5 separate regions of the Homo sapiens genome follow, and regions 1, 2, 3 and 5 are each linked to region 4. The links are contacts of gene promoters, found by promoter capture Hi-C in blood cells and fetal thymus (Javierre and others, 2016). All regions are on one chromosome and are shown on one strand. The core of a region is centred on a gene start or on the middle of the fragment in contact, and the rest is flanking DNA. Distances in the headings are between cores, read along the strand shown. Region 1 overlaps ZNF235 (zinc finger protein 235). Region 2 holds the start of ZNF112 (zinc finger protein 112). Region 3 overlaps ZNF227 (zinc finger protein 227). Region 4 holds the start of ZNF45 (zinc finger protein 45). Region 5 overlaps ZNF112 (zinc finger protein 112).

Region 1 (3,906 bases), core at 621-3,120, 350 kb before region 4:
TCTCCAGCTATAAATATGGATTTGTCTATCAGTTATTTTGAGCATGTTTCTAGATGTGCAGGTTGTATAATGAGAGCCTATAATTGAGGCATATATTTTGCCTGATTTATGTAGTTGCTACTTACGATTCAGTTGCTGTAGCCAAAGAAGAGGTGACTTTTAATTTACCATTCTTATAGGCAAAGAAGTCAATTTTTCCTTTCTAAGTACTTACTGAGATATCATTTTGTTGTTCTGCAGTTGGCTGGTTTCTACCTCTTGTCCTATTCTTAGATCTGTAGTTCTGTGTTTCGAGAGGCAAATAAAATCCAGGAAAATCTGTGATGGTAAAGATAAGCTGAAAGTTTCCATCATGAACTAAAGCCTGATACCGAAGGAACTATGTGTAAAATTTGGAAACATCTGGACAAAGCATTCACTTTGGAGTTGTGTATACTGGAGAATACACACAGGCAGCAAGACTCATACTCAGAAAAGACCCAAGATACACCTTAACCATACCCTGGGCTGATCTCAAATTTTCTATCTTAAATATGGCTTTTTAAAACATTTGGTGTTCTCTTGGTTGCAGCTGCTTTTCAGAGTTCCTATAAATTTATTTCAGCCAGTCTAGTTGTTTTTTTGACGTTTCCATGGGGAAAATGAGAGCTTAGATCTTAATTCTCTACTTTGCTAATGTCAGTCTCTTGGTCCTTTATTCCTTATTCTCTCTATCCTTTCAGGAGACAGGAATCAAAATGAGATGGCAACTCTTCACAAAGCAGGATTAAGGTGCTTTTCACTGGGAGAGCTTTCATGCTGGCAAATCAAGAGACACATTGCGAGCAAATTAGCCAGAAGTCAAGACTCCATGATAAATATTGAAGGAAAGAGCTCTCAGTTCCCCAAGCACCATGATTCCCCCTGTCAAGTGGGAGCAGGAGAATCTATTCAAGCTTCTGTGGATGACAACTGTCTAGTGAATCACATAGGGGATCATTCCAGTATCATTGAAAATCAAGAATTTCCAACTGGGAAAGTTCCGAATTCTTGGAGTAAAATATATCTGAATGAGACACAGAATTATCAGAGAAGTTGTAAGCAGACTCAGATGAAAAACAAACTATGTATATTTGCTCCATATGTTGACATTTTCAGTTGTATTTCACACCACCATGATGATAATATAGTGCACAAAAGAGATAAAGTTCATAGCAATAGTGATTGTGGTAAAGATACCCTAAAGGTATCACCTCTTACCCAGCGTAGTATTCACACAGGACAGAAAACCTACCAGGGTAATGAATGTGAAGAAGCCTTCAATGATAGCTCCAGTCTTGAACTTCATAAACAGGTACACTTGGGAAAGAAGTCTCCAGCGTGTAGTACACATGAGAAGGACACCAGTTATAGCTCAGGTATTCCTGTTCAACAAAGTGTTCGTACTGGGAAAAAACGCTATTGGTGTCATGAATGTGGTAAAGGTTTCAGTCAGAGCTCAAATCTGCAAACTCATCAGAGAGTCCACACAGGGGAGAAACCCTATACATGCCACGAGTGTGGTAAGAGCTTTAATCAGAGCTCACATCTTTATGCTCATTTGCCTATTCACACAGGAGAGAAGCCCTATAGATGTGACAGTTGTGGGAAGGGCTTCAGTCGTAGCACAGATCTTAACATTCATTGCAGAGTTCACACTGGAGAGAAACCTTATAAATGTGAGGTGTGTGGGAAGGGCTTCACTCAGAGATCACATCTTCAGGCCCATGAAAGAATTCACACTGGAGAGAAACCATATAAATGTGGGGATTGTGGTAAACGCTTTAGTTGTAGCTCAAATCTTCATACCCATCAGAGAGTCCACACTGAAGAAAAACCATACAAATGTGATGAGTGTGGTAAGTGCTTTAGTTTGAGCTTTAATCTTCATAGTCATCAACGAGTCCACACAGGAGAAAAACCATATAAATGTGAAGAGTGTGGTAAGGGTTTTAGTTCAGCCTCAAGTTTCCAGAGCCATCAGAGGGTCCATACAGGAGAGAAACCATTTCGATGCAACGTGTGTGGGAAAGGCTTCAGTCAGAGTTCATACTTTCAAGCACATCAGAGAGTCCACACTGGAGAAAAACCATACAAATGTGAAGTGTGTGGGAAGCGCTTCAATTGGAGCTTGAATCTTCACAATCATCAGAGAGTCCACACCGGAGAGAAACCCTACAAATGTGAAGAGTGTGGTAAGGGTTTCAGTCAGGCTTCAAATCTTCAAGCCCATCAGAGCGTCCACACTGGGGAAAAACCATTCAAGTGTGATGCATGTCAGAAGCGATTCAGTCAGGCCTCACACCTTCAAGCCCATCAGAGAGTCCACACCGGAGAGAAACCATATAAATGTGACACTTGTGGTAAGGCCTTCAGCCAGAGGTCAAATCTTCAAGTCCATCAGATAATTCACACTGGAGAGAAACCATTTAAATGTGAGGAATGTGGGAAAGAATTCAGTTGGAGTGCTGGTCTCAGTGCCCATCAGAGGGTCCACACAGGAGAGAAACCCTATACGTGTCAGCAGTGTGGGAAGGGCTTCAGTCAGGCCTCACATTTTCACACACACCAGAGAGTCCACACTGGAGAGAGGCCTTACATATGTGATGTCTGTTGTAAGGGCTTCAGTCAGAGGTCACATCTCATCTACCATCAGAGAGTCCACACTGGAGGGAATCTGTAGAAATGAGAGGTGTGGTTCAGCCTTCAGTTAGAGCTCACATCTTTGTCTCCGTTGGGAAGTCCATGCTGATGATTGTGAAAAGTTCCTTTAAAACTAGAAGCTTCAAAGAATCTTGACAGGAAAGAAGTCTCTCAAATGCTGTGTTTTAGACTTGGTTAGGACATGAATTCTTTACAAACGTCATATTTCACAGATGCGAGAAAACTTTGTTCTGTAAATATGATCAGTGTTTATATCAGAGTACCAGGTGTCCCGGTTCTCAAGATGTAACACAGCAGAAAAGTCTTGTCGGAGTCTGCACAGGAGAGAGGCCTTCCTTTAACAAAAGTATGATTGACAGAAAAAATGGATGTCAACTAAAATGTAACCTCTATGTAAGGAGGTGTTTTTCACCACTCTATCTCTACCATGTAGAATTGTGCTTGGCTCATAATAGGGCCCAGCAATTACTGAAGAAAGTGAAGAAAATACCTATAATTAGGACAAATACTTGAAAATTCTAGTCTGTTTTCTACTCTAAATTTATATTAATTTATATTCAAAAGGAATCCTGCAAGTAGCCTTAATAACGTTAGTTTCAGTAAGTACTGAAAAGTATATAATACTGCCATCCATACTAACACAAATTTGGAAAAAAGACATGAATGGCTCCCATCCTTCAGCCTTAGTTCTTTGTACAGTGTATCATCAGTTGTGTACAGTATGATTTTTAGTGTCAGTTTATAGACTGAACAATACTGTTTTTATCTAATGTGACCCTGCAATTTACATGATTAGAATTTTTGGACACTAAGCTGTACTGTAACTCTGAAAGTGTTAAAAGTAGTTACTGATGACAAAAAGTTTCTTAGTAAACTTGAATTGTTAATACTTGGTTTCCTTTCATTATTTTCATTCAGGTTCAGGTCAAGTTGCTTTTCTATGTGTAGTCTTTCCTCCATGTAGGCCGCTTTAGAAGGAGCTTTGGCAGATTTCAGGCATGTTAATTTGTCACATTTATCCCCTTAAAAGGAAGTGGCAGGGCAAGAAACCTGTTGAGTCTTTATTGAAATTGTATCTTATTGTTTATTTATTTTGTTTAATAGAGCCTTGCAGTGTTGCCCAGGTTGGTCTCAAACTCCTGGCCTCAAGCATTCCTCCCACCTTGGCTTCCCGAAGTGTTGAGATTATGGATGTGAACCTCTGTGCCCAACCTTGAAATTGTA
Region 2 (3,937 bases), core at 982-3,481, 420 kb before region 4:
ACAGGTGCCCGCCACCACGCCCGGCTAATTTTTTGTATTTTTTGTAGAGACGGGGTTTCACCATGTTAGCCAGGATGGTCTCGATCTCCTGACCCCGTGAGCATTTTCACAGATTGGTCGTTATGTCTTTTTATTTTCCTCTTCCTTTTCTGGATTGAGTCAACCCATTCACCGTCCTCCCTGAATCATCCTGTCCTCCATAAGACAACTTACAATATTTGCTATATCAAGAGCAGGGTGAAAATAGGTGATAGATTTTTCTCAAAGAAGAAAAAAATTTCGAGGTTTTACAAGAGACTTATCCCTTCCCATAATAATAACATTTTGTCTGTATCAGTACAGCCCTTCTATTTGCCTTATGACTTGCATTTCATCATCAGTAGTTAAAGCAGAGGAAACGTGGGAACCATTTACTGTTTCTGCTTATGGCCTCATCAACGGTTGCATCTGTTTTTTTGTGGATTCTTGGCATCCACGTTCTTGTGGATCTTGCAACAAACACATTATGGTAGGTAGCAGCAGCACTATCAGTTTCAGACGCGTCCACACCAAAATGGAATAAAAAGGTAATCGAGTCAAAGAAAGGTTGAGATCCTGTATTCCTTAAATTCGGTGTCCAGTACAAATCAGCCCAATTTCCTTTAAGTACCTGCATTTTTAGCGCACACATCGCTTCCATTCTGTAATTCTTTTCTTTTTTCTTCCTGTATTGCAAGCTTCTCTGTTCTCTCCTTTATGGGATATTTTCTTGGTAAGTAGGTAGGTAGGTAGGTAAAGTCCGCTTTGGTTGAGTTTATTTGGGTTTGTGTCGCGTTTGAAGAAAAATAAATTCAAACTCTAGGGGGAAGGCAGTAGAACTGGACTAGCAGTATAAAATTGGATGGCTAACCAAAAGAGAATAGTGACTATACAAATACTGACTATCCAAACGAGAAAGAGACGACTTAAGGGAAAGTGCTACCCTGCAAGAAATTCCGGGAATTGTCCAGAAGATCCACAGGGTCAGAGACACACGCGCCAGGAAAGGCGCCTTTCATGCACGGTCCGCTGGGTAAAACAGAGAAATATATATACGAGCTCTCTGTCTTTGGAAGCATTTCGGTTCCAGGAAGGGGGAGTTAAGGAATTCCTTTGGGACCGGCACATGTGAAATATCATCCAGGCTCTCAGCTTGGCACCCGGTACTTGCGTCCTAGGCAGGCAGATAAGTGGAGAGTTTTTCTAGGAATTCTGGGAAATGTAGTTTGGGAGCCCCGTGTAGTCGGGTAACTTCCGCTCTAGGAGGCTGAGGCCGTCTCCCTGATCCCGTCGGGAATTCTGGGAAGCGTAGTCCAGGAGGTCTCGGTAGGCAGAGCCACTTCCGCCCCAGGTACGCTAGGCCGCGGCCTTCGTTCCTCCCAGAAAGGTGAGCGCTCCCCGCCCTGCTTCCTGCTCCTTCCGTCCATACTGATGTTCGTTTTGTTGGGGTCCAGTAGCAACCGGGCAGTAGCTCTAGGGGAGGATAATCCACTTGCGGCGAAGGGCGGGATTTGTGTTATCTTTGAATGAGCCTTCTCCAGTGTGGGGCAGCTGGCGCATCCCCACTTAGCGCCGGGGGTCCAAGATCCTACATCGCAGGGACTGGGGATCTCCTGGGTTCTGTACTTCCCCAGCCCTTTCCCCTGACCATCAACCAGCTCTGCCACTTCCTAGCAGTATAATAACAGGCGAGTATCTTAATCTCTCTGCCTATGTTTCTTTTTCTTTAAAATGGTACTAGTATCTATCTAATGGAGTTCTTTTGAGAGTTAAATAAAAAGACTTGGAACAGAGCCTGACAGGTGGTAGAAGATGGGTCTCTTGTTATTAGCACTTTTTAATTTTCTGAGAAGGACTCAGTTCCCTGAAAGCTTCTGTGAACCCAGGATGGGGTCAGAGCTCCAGCTGCAGAGTATCCCTGGCCCTTTTCTGATCACTGAGAGATTTTTCTTTAGGACAGGATCACTCCTGGCTGTCTGGGTAGTCCATTGTAATTCATGCAGGAGTTCTGATTTCCCCCATCCTCCTTTCCTTCTTTAGCCTTGACTTCTTGAAAAAGGCTGCAGGGAGAAGGAGGGAATGACCCTTTGGCACTTGGCAGCGGAGTCTCACCTGAGTAGTACTTATCATCCTTTCTTTTCAGGGAAGACGATATTTCCATCATTCACTGGCAAATTCTGCTCGAAGATGCGCTGATATTTGTTCAATAAATGCAGAAACGGATGAGGGAGTACTTGGGCATGAGTAATAAAGATAGTATTTAAACATTTAGTGCTGATCATTCTAAGAGTTTGATATGAATTAACATCTTTAATCCTCACAAGAGCCCTTTGAGCCTGGGTTGGGTACCACCATTCCCATTTTAAAGATAAGCAAACAGACATAGAGCATAGGTGGTTTATCTTTAGGTCACCCAGGTGGTAAGAGCCTGAGCTGGGATTTGAATTCAAATAGTTTCCATCCATTGCCTTAGTTCTTGATGTGTTTAGTATCAGCTTCAGAACACATATTTGGATTTTACTAGAGGACCGTGAAAGCAAGGTTAATAAGCTTTGAATTTTTGATTTTTTAAAATTATCTGTAATTTAATTTTATTTGAAATATTTATAGTTCATATTCTGATTATATAAATTATTGCATATTGTAAAAGATTAAGAAAGTATAGAAAGTGTAAAAGAAAAAAATTATGCTAACCACAAGATATAACAGTAACAATATTAATATTTCAATGTTTTCCTCTTCCAGTAGACTTCTTTTTGGATTTTCACCCATGTTTAACCAAATAGGCTTCATAGCTTTTATTTTTCCCTTAAGTTTTTACTATGGAAATTTGTAAGCATAGCCAAATGTAATATGACTAAAATAATTCTGTGGAAGCGTCACCCAGCTTCAACCTTTGTTAACATTTGCCAGTCTTGTATCAACTCCCTGTCCCTTTTTTTTTTGTTTCAGTATTTTAAAGCAAATCTCTAACATCGACTTAGTATAATATCGTTTGATTGATTGTCATAATTGCCAAACGTTGATGATCATAAATTGCTTATATCCAAGACTTTGAAAGGGAAATGCCAGCAGCTACTCTAAGGTTTTCATTCGTTGAAGCTTACAGAATGGTCCTTACTTGAGGAAGCTAGGGGATGCAAGAGAATTGTACCTTGGAGAAGGATGGTGATGAATTTTGTGTTCCAGTATAGAGTTTGCCTTGCCTAAGTCTTATAGCTCTTTGTTTCTTATTTCTCTTTATCTAAATCCATACACTGAAAGTTCTTCTATTTCTGGGACCATGTCATACTTTTCTCCATGTGCCCAGCACATCGTACAAGGTTGTTAAGGGTTTATGGTTAGAGTAGCTACTCAACAGACAGCTGGCATCAAGGATTTGCAGTGTGGAATTGGAATTAGGTATCAAAATAGAATAGAAATAACCCCTGGATATATTCCTTAATCTCACTTAATATTGGTAGGTTATATAATCCACCAACTATTTCAGAGTATTGAAGAGTTGAAGAGCAATGATTGGTTATGTTTTGATAATCTAAAAAAATTCCTAAGAAACAAATTGTTAGAAATGGTAACAACATTTATAGACCATGCCTTATAACTGAGGTTGTGTTTCCAGGTTTTTAAAACAGGTTTTTAAAAAATGTTTTTACAGTGACATTGACTATTTTGTTATTTTTGGTATACAATTCTATTACAACACAGGCATAGTTTGTATAACGACTACCGTAGTCAGAAAAAGAACAGTTCCATCACCCCAAAAACTCCCCTCATGTCTTCCCTCATAATTACCCCTCACCATACCTGTAACCACTGGCAACTACCATAACCACTAAAACGCTATAGTTTTGTCTTTTTGAGAATGTCGTATAAATGAACTGATGCTATATGTTAACATTTGAGACCGGATTCTTTTACT
Region 3 (3,704 bases), core at 1,054-3,553, 280 kb before region 4:
AGGGGAACATCACACTCCAGGGACTGTTGTGGGGTGGGGGGAGTGGGGAGGGATAGCATTAGGAGATATACCTAATGCTAAATGACGAGTTAATGGGTGCAGCACACCAACATGGCACATGTATACATATGTAACAAACCTGCACATTGTGCACATGTACCCTAAAACTTAAAGTATAATAATAATAAATAAATAAATAAATAAATAAATAAAAGAAAATCAACATCCAAAAAAAAAAGTTTTGAAAGCGTAATGGCAGATTTTCCTCTCCAAAGATTTTCCCAGTTCACTCTTCATGCAACAGTACAAGCATTCCTGAATCTCTAGACCCCGGCTAAATAGGACTCAGTTCCTTTTTCTAAAAAAGTCATTGACAATATAAGTAAAACCAATATATAAATAGAAAGCTATTTTATTAACATTTTCACACATTTAAATTATTAGTGAAGTTTTTTTCATAAATTTCTTTTCTTTATGACACTCCTATTCATTTCTTTTGCTCATATTCCAGTTGGAATTTTCTCTATATTACTAATCTTAACAGGAATTTAAGCTATTAGACCTTTACCTAATGTTTAAGTATATGCCACCGGTTTGCTGCTGTCTCTTACCATCATACCTGATAGCTTTTGCTGTAGGGAAATTTAAAACACTTACATAAAAACTGTGCTTGAGCATCTACGTTCATGGAATGACTAAGAGACAAAACTAGAGAAGAGACAGTAATTGAGATGGAAACTGGATGAGGGGCATTGTTGGGGTCTATCCTCCAAAAGGTAATATCAGGGCCAGGTGCACTGGTTCACGCCTATAATCCCAGCACTTTGGGAGGCCGAAGTGGGTGGATCATCTGAGGTCAGGAGTTGAAGACCAGCCTGGCCAACGTGGTGAAACCCCGTCTCTAATAAAAATACAAAATTAGCCAGGCGTGCTGGTACATGCCTGTAATCCCAGCTACTTGGGAGGCTGAGGCAGGAGAATCGCTTGAACCTGGGAGGCAGAGGTTGCAGTGAGCTAAGAACATGCCATTGCACTCCGGCCTGGGTGACAAGAATTAAACTCTGTCTCAAAAGAATAAAAAGGTAACATCAGGTACTTCTATCATATGTGCTCATCTCTGTGAATGGAAAACTCTTTTGTTCTGTCTGCCTTTACATGAAAATAGAATGCCAGATATTCCTAATAGTTGGAAGCTTCAGTGTCCAATGAGTCAGCTACCTGGGAAATTTGGGGCAGTTATAAAATGTTCCCATAACCTGTTTCTTCATATTTAAAATGCAAATAAATCATCTCCATCCTCACATCTGAAAAATGCAATGACAGATGGAAAGGGCTAGCAAGACATCTAAGTACTACTAGACCTTACGTACATGTAGTTACTTTGATGAAATAAATTCATACAAGAAATAAATGAGTGATAAAAACATAAACGGGAAAAATATATAGCTCTTCTTCTCTGAAAGCATCTAATAAAATTACACCATGTCATTCTTTAGATGTTCTGTTTACAAAACACCTGAGGGAACTGACATGAAACTGAGACATAAACCTCTTCAATGCAGAGTTCCTAAAACTTTAAGGACAAATAATATTGAATTCCACCAGAATTTCTTTTGAAGGAATTGTTTTTATATGTAGGGAAAAAAGTCACTGGATTTACTTTAAAGTAGTAAAATTCTTAAAATTTCTGAATTTCTGAAAGGCTAAATAAGAAATAGTTTTTGTTGTCTTTTAAGGGCACTGCAATTCAATGGCATATGATGTACTCACTTACAATGCAGGTGATGCAATTAAGTGGAGAATGCACAATTGAAAATTTCATCTACTCAAGTATTGCAAAATGTGTATGAAAAAGGAACATGGGAAAATGAAAAAAGCTAGTTCATAAGCAGGGTAGTAGCATAGATTATTTCTGATTAAAGCTTCTATTATTTTTTCAAACACTGTTTTGTAAAATAGTAAAGGTGATAAACTAAAACAAAAAAACACATACATGTCAGCATACCACATGTCCTGAATATCTGTTTCCCACTAACCTTTCCAAGAAAGAGAAAAAATAAATCTGTTATCTTTGAGAAATAAATCACATTTTAAAAGACAGCAAGGAATCCTTTACGTACCTGAAACTTGGTCATTTTCTCCTGCTTCTTCTGGGGAAGGTCATAGTTCTGAGATGGCATAACTGGGGGAGACCAAAGACGCCATGAGACACAAGCCTGCTGTTAGCCCATGTGTACATATGAGGAAATTAGAGAAATAGCCCTACATTCAGACAGGTATAGCCACATACAGCTTGGTAAGCAGAACATGGACTGTATTCCAGCTACTAAATGGCATGATAGTTCAGTGCCATTGGGCAGTGAACAGTCTGCACAAGTGCAGCATCCTTGCTACAAGGATTTCTGATGGCAGAGACAGCAGGAAACGAGAGGCAATGTAACAACATATGAGGGCTCTCAAGTCAAGTATCTGGGTTTAATTCCTAGAAATGATACTTACCAGCTGTGTAACCTTGGGGATATTAAAAACCCTCTCTGTGCCTCACTTCTGTTATGTGTACAATGAGGATATGGTAAGAATCATAAATCGTACCTCCCTCATAGGGTTTTTCCAAGGATTAAATAAGTAGATGGAGAGTTCTAAGAACCAGGAGTCCCTTTCTCTTATAGTTACAAAAAAGCTTCTTCATGGCTTCTTGCTGTTTAGCCAGGCCTGGCACAGTGGCTCATGCTTGTAATCCCAGCACTTTAGGAGGCCAAGGAGGGAGGATCACATAAGGTCAGAAGTTTGAGACCAGCCTGGCCAACACGGCAAAACCTCATCTCTACCAAAAATAAAAAAAATCAGCCAGGCGTGGTGGTGCGGGTCTGTAATCCCAGCTACTTGGGAGGCTGAGGCATGAGAATTGCTAGAACCTGGAAGGTGGAGGTTATAGTGAGCCAAGATCACGCCAATGAACTCCAACCTGGATGACACAGTGAGACTCTGTCTCAAAAAAAAAAAAAAAAAAAAAACAAGCAGATGATACTTTGCATCACACACTTGCCTTGCAAATATTGCTCTCCTATGAAAGTCACCTTTAATTTCTGAAAAGCCGAAATCTGACTTAAGGTTTCTTTTTAGTAATTTGTTGCCCAGCTAGTAATATTTTACTGACACTGTTATCAGTTTTCTAAAACGTATCATTCTGGGTCAATTTACTTCATGAAGCCTGGAAACGATCATTGGTACATCTCTTTTATTTTATGTGCACAGAGAAAAACACACAGCAAAGAGAAAGATAAAGCACAAACGAAAAATCAAGAAACATGAAAGATAAATTGAGAGGCTTCCGTATTTGTCTAACAGGAATGGGAGAAGAGAAGGCAGGATGGAGGGAATGACTGAGAGGTTTTAATTTCAAGATGCAATTGCTGAGAATTTCACACAATTGGTAAAAGATACAAGTTCGCATATAGAAATTCTAAACAGTATAAATAAAAATAAACATACCCTAAACAAATCACAATAAAACTCAGAAATGCAAAAGACTAAACGAACATAAAGAACTGGAAACAACAACCTTAAAGCTCCTAGAAAGAAAATATAGTTGACCTAAAAGAAATAACAATTAGATTGACAGAAATAGGGTAACAGAATGGAGATTTAAAACAAATGAATATTACCTCCAAAATAAAGAAACTGTCAACCTGAATTCTATGTTC
Region 4 (3,798 bases), core at 1,211-3,710:
GGGGTATGTGAAGTGTGTGGGGCTTCCAGGTTATAGGCAGATTCAAAGATTTTCTGATTGGCAATTGGTTGAAAGAGTTTATCTAAAGTCCTGGAATCAATAGAAAGGAAATGTCTGGGTTAGGATAAGAGATTGTGGAGACCAAGGTTCTTATTACGCAGATGAAGCTTCCAGGTATCAGTCTTCAGAAATAAGAGATCGTAGATTTTTCTCATCAGACTTAAAAAGGTAGCCCAGGCACGGTGGCTCACGGCTGTAATCCCAGTATTTTGGGAGGCCGAGGCAGGCAGGTCACCTGAGGTTGGGAGTTCGAGACCAGCCTGACCAACATGGAGAAACCCTGGCTCTGTTAAAAATACAAAATTAGCCGGGCATTGTGGTGCATGCCTGTAATCCCAGCTACTTGGGAGGCTGAAGCAGGAGAATCGCTTGAACCCAGGACGCGGGGGTTGTGGTGAGCTAAGATTGCACAATTGCACTCCAGCCTGGATGACAAGAGCAAAACTCTTAAAAAAAAAAAAAAGTGTCAGACTCTTAGTTGATTCTCTCCTGGATCAGAAAAAATGGCCTGGAAAAAGGAAAGGAGATTCTCTACAGAATGTAGATTTTTCTCCACAAAGGACAACTTTGCAGGGCTATTTCATGATAGGGCAATGAAACATATTTGGGGTTGAAGTATTTTGATTTCCTTTCTTATCCGTCATGAGGTGTTATGACAGGTTGGAAAGTAAGTCACATTATATAGGGTTAAATTAAAACCCCTCTCATGAGACTTTATGGTTTGGAGGGCTTGACTCCCCAGACCCTTAGATAGGAATTTGAGTAAGAAAAGAAAAAACGGCAGAGTTCAGTCTTCACCCTGGTCTCCCATTTAGCCAGCTCTACGTGTATTAAACTCTTTCTCTATTGCAATTCCTGTCTTGATAAATTGGCTCTCTCTGGGCAGTGGGCAAGATGAGTCCATTGGGTGATTACATTTCTCTCTTCCTCTTACTAAAGTAGAGAGAGTACTTATCCAGATTTTGAAATGGCATTGATGCAGGGCAGTTTCTTGGCTTTGCTCAGGAAAGAATTCAACAGCAAGCCAGCAGCGGAAGAAAGCAGGTTTATCGAATCAACAGTGTTAAAAGCTCAGTGACTGTTCCTTGCAGACCAAGACTAGCCCACAGGCAGTGTGCCCAGAGTAGCAGCATATGGGCTGTTGGCTGGGTATATTTATACCAACTTTTCATTACATGCAAATTAAGGGGTGAGTTACTCGGAAATCTCTAGAAAAGGGGTTGGTAACTTCCAGGTGTTGCCATGGCATTTATAAACCGTCACGGCGCTGGTGGGAGTGTCTTATACTGATAGGTAGCAAAGGGAACTTACAGGTTGCTTTCCATCACTTGCTGGTTTCAGCAGGTTTCTTATCTGATCTTGGAATCACGCCCTGCTGGTCTCCTGCCTCAGCCTAAATTGAACATTGTTCAGATGTTTACAGCTACTCCTATGTAGTCAACTTCCATTTTTTCTTCTTTACCCTTTCATAATAAACTTGGAAAAATATTTAGTTTCTACCTAGGAGAAAAGTGAATAGTATAGCTTTCTGTATTTTTTGCACTTCATGTCTTAATCCCTCACTTCACCTCCCTCTCCTTACTGAATATTCATAGACACTTTGGCAAATCATAAGACACCTTTACAGATTCCTGATTCTGAGAGCAAGAAGTGATGTGATTCCTTAATCTGAACTGAATGTTTTCAAGATTTTATATAGGATAGAGCCTATTCAATACTATAATACTTTCTTCAGTATCCTGCGAATGAAAGAAAACTAAGCGCAAGAAAAGTGGAGAATTTTGCTGCTTTTGTTTCATGTCCTGCTGGATGATTGCATCTCCTTTTTTGAGCATTTTTAATCACAGATGAATCCATACCCATATTATAAAAGGCTTGTTGCTCTGGGCGGCTCTGGCCACCTCTTTTATTACCTCTGTTTTTAGCTCACACATAGCATTCCTTTGTATTTTCCTTTTTTTTTTTCATATTCGCAACTTCTGTCACGTATAAAAGGGAACAATGGCAAAAGGAAAAAGCAGGCTGAGCTCTACAAGCAATGACTTAGACTCCCCCCGCTAATTCAAAAGGAAAATTGCAGGCTGGCGGGAAGCTCAGCCCTACAGAGGATTCTGGGACGTGTGGTCCAGACTTTTGGGGGCACTTCAGCTCTGGGAAAGCGCGGCTTTGTTATTTGCTCCCCTGGGGAAATAGGAACCTATACCCCAGTGCTCAGTGGGTTCGGTGGTACTTCGACTATTTGAGGACGAGAACACGAAGCCCGCTCCCCTTGGGGATTCTGAGAAATAAGATTCGGCCGTGGGAGTCGAAGCCCGCACTTCCGCCCAGGGGGCGGGGCAGCGGCTTCCGTTCCTCCCGGGGATGCTGGGAAATGTAGTTCCAGAGCTCCCTGCTCTCCCGGGCACTTCCGCGGCAAGAGGTTGAGAGCGCGGCCTTCATTCCTCTCGTGGAAGTGAGTGAGTCCTGGGACCCCGCGACCTGTTTTAACTTTTATGGTTTGGTCGTAGGATCAGCAGGGCTCGCACTTCGGTCAGCAGGAAAAGACGCTGCGGCGAGCAGCGGAGGGCGGAGTTGAATGGCTGGGCAGCTGATTGCCTTACTGTATCCGGAGCTGCTGCGTTCGGGGCGGTTCGGGAGTCCCCTGGTTGGAAGTGGACCTGAATGGGGAGGCGTCTGAGGATCTCCTGGGCTCTCAGCGGCCCGACCCGCCTTCCCCCACCTCCCACAGCTCTGTAGCTTCCTAGCGGTGTAACGTTGGGTGAGAACTTAATCTTTCGGTGCTTAGTTTCTGGTCTTAGTTTCCTCTTCTGCAAAAGGAAATATTAACCTTATATATTTGTTTTGACAATTAGTAATATAGTACAAGTAAAATGTGTATGGAATAGTACAGGAATGTGGCAACATGTCGGCCGTTAATATTAAAACTATCATAATAAAAAATATTCATTTTTCAGCAAGCGCCTGGCTCTTCTTTCTGATTCCTGCAGGAAAGGAGGCTGTTCTTGGACTATGCCTGACCCGTTTTTTAAGAAAGAGTGCATCACTCAACAGGTGGCGTCTGGAGTTATCCTCTGTGGATTTTCCAGGATCTCAGACAAGATCGTGCAATCTCCCAGCCTCCTTTCCTTCCCCTGCCCTGACTTCTGAAAGAATGCTGCGGGAGAGGAGGAAGGAGAGCATCCTGGCTTCTGGCAGCAGAGCCCCACTGTGACAGGACCTAGCATTCACCTTCCTCTTCTGTTCCGAGTGCGAGAAGGTATTTCATTCCTTGCAAATGTTTCTGCTACAGAAGTGTTCCGTTATTGTATAATTGGAGAAAATGTGACATGAATATTAGTCACACTAGTTAAACATTGGGTGCTGAGTATCACTCTGAGGGCTTTATAAAAACTAACACACTGAACCTTCACAAAGGCCTTGTGTTGTGGGTTCTGTTCACCTTACAAAGGTGATGTGGGTATTGTGATATGGGTACTGTTATTACACCAATTATACAGATGAGGAAATGGAGAGAGCCTAATTTACTTTCCTATATCACAGTGCTAGTAAGAACAGTGGGATTTGTGTCCTAGACTTGGGTTCCTTACATCTGAATACCCTTGGTCTCACAGTTTGAAATCCCAATTTAGAATTAGGAAATAAAATAGATAAATGATCCATATAAATAATCATAGGAAACTGGCTGCAGAGGAGCCATTTGAGATCAAGTTGGGGAGGGAGGTTGGAATTTTACTGTAG
Region 5 (3,976 bases), core at 997-3,496, 390 kb before region 4:
AAGAGAAACTATACACAGATATAGAGTATGGAAAGAGTTTCATTTGTAGTTCAAATCTTGACATTCAGCATAGGGTTCATATGGAAGAGAATTCATATAATTCTGAGGAGTGTGGTAATGGCTTCAGTCTGGCCTCACATTTTCAGGACCTTCAGATAGTCCACACTAAGGAACAACCATATAAACGCTATGTGTGTAGTAACAGCTTCAGCCATAATTTATATCTTCAAGGTCATCCAAAAATTCACATTGGAGAGAAACCACGTAAGGAGCATGGGAATGGCTTCAACTGGAGCTCAAAACTTAAAGATCATCAGAGAGTCCACACTGGACAGAAGCCATACAAATGCAATATATGCGGCAAAGGTTTCAATCATAGATCAGTTCTGAATGTTCATCAGAGAGTCCACACAGGAGAGAAACCTTATAAATGCGAGGAATGTGATAAGGGATTCAGTCGGAGTTCATATCTTCAAGCCCATCAGAGAGTCCACACTGGAGAAAAACCTTATAAATGTGAGGAATGTGGGAAGGGGTTCAGTCGAAATTCATACCTTCAAGGCCATCAGAGAGTTCACACTGGAGAAAAACCATACAAGTGTGAGGAGTGTGGGAAGGGCTTCAGTCGGAGTTCACACCTTCAAGGCCATCAGAGAGTCCACACTGGAGAAAAACCATTCAAATGTGAGGAATGTGGGAAGGGGTTCAGTTGGAGCTTTAATCTTCAAATTCATCAGAGGGTTCACACAGGAGAAAAACCCTATAAATGTGAAGAATGTGGTAAAGGCTTCAGTAAGGCCTCAACACTTTTGGCCCATCAGAGGGTCCACACGGGAGAGAAGCCATACCAATGTGATGAGTGTGGTAAGAGTTTCAGTCAGAGATCATACCTTCAGAGTCATCAGAGTGTCCATTCTGGAGAAAGACCATATATATGTGAGGTATGTGGAAAGGGCTTCAGTCAGAGAGCATATCTTCAAGGTCATCAGAGAGTCCACACTAGAGTGAAACCGTATAAATGTGAGATGTGTGGGAAGGGCTTTAGTCAGAGTTCGCGCCTTGAAGCACATCGGAGGGTTCACACAGGAGGGAAACCATACAAATGTGAGGTGTGTACAAAGGGTTTCAGTGAGAGTTCACGCCTTCAAGCACACCAAAGGGTTCATGTGGAAGGGAGACCCTATAAATGTGAACAGTGTGGTAAGGGTTTCAGTGGGTATTCAAGTCTTCAAGCCCATCACAGAGTCCACACAGGAGAGAAACCATACAAATGTGAGGTATGTGGAAAGGGCTTCAGTCAGAGATCAAATCTTCAGGCTCACCAGAGAGTCCACACAGGAGAGAAACCATACAAATGTGATGCATGTGGTAAGGGTTTCCGTTGGAGCTCAGGTCTTCTCATTCATCAAAGAGTCCATAGTAGTGATAAATTCTATAAAAGCGAAGACTATGGTAAGGACTACCCTTCATCAGAGAATCTACACAGAAATGAAGATTCTGTTTTGTTTTGAAGTCCTCAAATGGGAGCTGAAATTTTCCAGTCACTAGAGTTCTTTCAGTAGAAAAAGAATTTTTAAAAATTAAAATGTAATGTTGCTGCCCAACTTCAACATTCATAATGGCCAGGAGACCACACAACAGAGACATTTAATGAGAGGGGTTTCACGAGGGATTTTGTTAGAACTTTAACATCAGTCATTGCACAGGAGCTAAGGCTTATAAAATATGAGTATGGTCAGGAATTTAATAAAAGTACAGTGATGAGCATGCCTAAATCCATGTTCTCTAGAATGTAAGCTTGGTGAAAGAAGGGACTTTGTTCATTGCTAGTCTACAAAACTAGGACATTTCATAACGCAATGTAGGTGCTCAGTACTTTTTGCTAAATAACTAAAAGTATGTAAAGGTAAAAGGTTTGAAATTTTTAAGCGCATTTTTTAAAACTTAAAATGTATTTGGAGGAGAAATCCTGCAAGTAATCTTAATAAAATCATTTCAAGTAAATATTTGAAATGTAGAACAATAAGCATTATGATGATCTGAAATAACATTAATTTGATTGTAACCCTATTGGGGTTAGTTCCCACCCTTTGTTCCATCTTGAGCAGAGATGTGCTGCATTTCTTAACGTTTGGTCTCTATACATTATACCATCTGCTGAAGTTTAGCTTTGTGTGTGTGTATATGTACCCATGTGTGCACTTGAAATATCAGTACAAACTGATAAACAATGTTTCTGGTTAATGTTGCAAAAATGGAACACTGTATTTTACATAATTGATTTTCTACTCCTGCCCTGTGAATTAAGGCAGAGTTTTACTGTAATATTTGCAAGTATCCAAAATGGTTACTGATGACAAATACTTTTTAATAAATGTCAAAATCACAATACTTGGGGTTTTTTTATTCTCCATATTTCTCTAAAAGTCCATTTGATCTGACTGATTTCTAAATGTTGTAGCCTTTGTCCAATCCACACCTCCTTAAGCAGGGTCAAGTTTGAAAGATTTTAATTTTGTCAAGTTTTCCATTCCCATACTTCTCCCACTCACACACAAAAAAAGGGAAAATCTTGAATTTTTCTAAGCATATTTATCAATGTATTGACTAGCAGGATAGGGTTGCCATTTACTTGCTAGTGTCTGTCTTCAAGAATGATGCATTTTGTTGGCGAAAGTGAAAAATACAAGCTTGTCGTTCTATATATATCAAAATACTTATCAAGCCCCCCATATATATCGGAATGTAAAATGTGCATACCGATCTGGAAATCGTAGAACAGTAATTTATAATTAAGCAATTTTAGCAGTAAGAAAGGATTTTACAATGATAGTAATGTTTTAAGCTGGAAGTAAATGTCCATCAATATGAATTTGGGTAAGTTTCTGTATGTTCTATACTATGGATCTACAGAAAGTATGATTTAGCTCTAAAATGACAAGAATGGATCATGCATATTGTTTAGTAAAAACCTGGACTGTACGTTCATAATAGCCAGCTAATTTAAGCCTGTGTGCATGTATGTTCAAATATATGCTTATAGATAATGTGTGAAAGATTACTCATTATTATATCCACAGTAGTTTTCTCTGGAAAGAAATTTTTGGCTTAGTTTTTCTGTGCTTTATTTAAAAATATTTATAATGGACATTTACCAATTACACCAAAGCAGTAAACAGCTATTGATATATTATCTCTTATACTTAAGAACTCATGATATGATTGCTTGATTTCACTGTATGACATTATGACCAACAACAGTAAAGAATAAACCCCCTGAAGTTAGTTCTTAAAATTTCCTGGATTTTTAAGAATACAGATAAATTAGGTGTCCATAACTTTATATTTCTGTGAAATTTCCTTAGGTCTCAAAATCCATGTTGCCTAGGATGTCCTAGTGCAATCCAGTTTTATAAATTGATGCTCACGGCTTTTCCATCAGATTTCCCCTTGCTGGATGAATATGATGACCAAAGCACTGGCATAACTTGGCTTTTGAGGTGCTGGTTCAAGTTGCACAGTATCATCAGAAATCCAGGGCTTCTAAAGCATGTCTTTGATATCATCACTTACAGGGGAGAGCTCATGGTGGTTTTATCAATTGGAATGCTTTTAGTTCTAAGTAACAGAAAATTTAGAGTTGCCTAAACCAAAACTGTTTCTTAGTTCATATAAATGAAAAGATACAGATAGTGTAAGACTAGGGTCTGGGTAAGGTAGGGGGATTTTATATTGCTTTCTTTTAATTCTCTCACCTCTCTTTTCTTGTGAATTCTTGTCTTCATGTTGTTCACAATATAGCAGCATCACCTGCTTTCTTTTCACAGCCGAAGGAAGAGATATTCTGTACCATTTTAGTCCTGTGTGGTTCTGGCTCCCCAAAATGCATAGAATCTCTGACACTCCAATTCCCACTAACAACTGAGACTAACCAAGACAACAAAGGACACCGCTGGTCCCCTAGCCTATTCCTAGT

The links. The method cuts DNA at HindIII sites, captures the fragments that hold promoters and counts their contacts. A CHiCAGO score of 5 or more calls a contact.
Region 1: a contact is called between a fragment that was not itself captured here and the fragment with the promoter of ZNF45 in region 4, in 2 of 17 cell types (naive CD8 T cells and activated CD4 T cells). The highest score is 6.7, in naive CD8 T cells.
Region 2: a contact is called between a fragment that was not itself captured here and the fragment with the promoter of ZNF45 in region 4, in 1 of 17 cell types (M2 macrophages). The highest score is 6.0, in M2 macrophages.
Region 3: a fragment that was not itself captured here is called in contact with the fragment with the promoter of ZNF45 in region 4 in 12 of 17 cell types (naive CD8 T cells, total CD8 T cells, activated CD4 T cells and 9 more); the score reaches 9.9 in naive CD8 T cells.
Region 5: a fragment that was not itself captured here is called in contact with the fragment with the promoter of ZNF45 in region 4 in 3 of 17 cell types (M2 macrophages, erythroblasts and activated CD4 T cells); the score reaches 10.5 in M2 macrophages.

What each region holds. Positions count from the first base shown.
Region 1 is chr19:44,286,013-44,289,918 of GRCh38, reverse strand. It overlaps ZNF235 (zinc finger protein 235), which reads left to right. Exons shown (of 5, transcript NM_004234.4): 5 at 723-3,571. The coding sequence ends at 2,701. Among named protein-coding and RNA genes, the nearest start is that of ZNF235, 17 kb to the left of the region's middle. The HindIII fragment of the contact is 1,866 bases long and covers 938-2,803 here.
Region 2 is chr19:44,354,094-44,358,030 of GRCh38, reverse strand. It overlaps ZNF112 (zinc finger protein 112), which reads left to right and starts at 1,351. Exons shown (of 4, transcript NM_013380.4): 1 at 1,351-1,405. RefSeq lists an enhancer at 1,042-1,542. The HindIII fragment of the contact is 679 bases long and covers 1,892-2,570 here.
Region 3 is chr19:44,216,269-44,219,972 of GRCh38, reverse strand. It overlaps ZNF227 (zinc finger protein 227), which reads right to left. Exons shown (of 6, transcript NM_182490.3): 3 at 2,121-2,182. The coding sequence starts at 2,180. Among named protein-coding and RNA genes, the nearest start is that of ZNF227, 5.6 kb to the right of the region's middle. The HindIII fragment of the contact is 758 bases long and covers 1,925-2,682 here.
Region 4 is chr19:43,933,944-43,937,741 of GRCh38, reverse strand. It overlaps ZNF45 (zinc finger protein 45), which reads left to right and starts at 2,460. Exons shown (of 10, transcript NM_003425.4): 1 at 2,460-2,818; 2 at 3,048-3,316. ZNF45-AS1 (ZNF45 antisense RNA 1) reads right to left here. Exons shown (of 3, transcript NR_184050.1): 3 at 1,928-3,798. The HindIII fragment of the contact is 8,828 bases long and covers 170-3,798 here.
Region 5 is chr19:44,324,968-44,328,943 of GRCh38, reverse strand. It overlaps ZNF112 (zinc finger protein 112), which reads left to right. Exons shown (of 4, transcript NM_013380.4): 4 at 1-2,389. The coding sequence ends at 1,511. Among named protein-coding and RNA genes, the nearest start is that of ZNF235, 22 kb to the right of the region's middle. The HindIII fragment of the contact is 893 bases long and covers 1,800-2,692 here.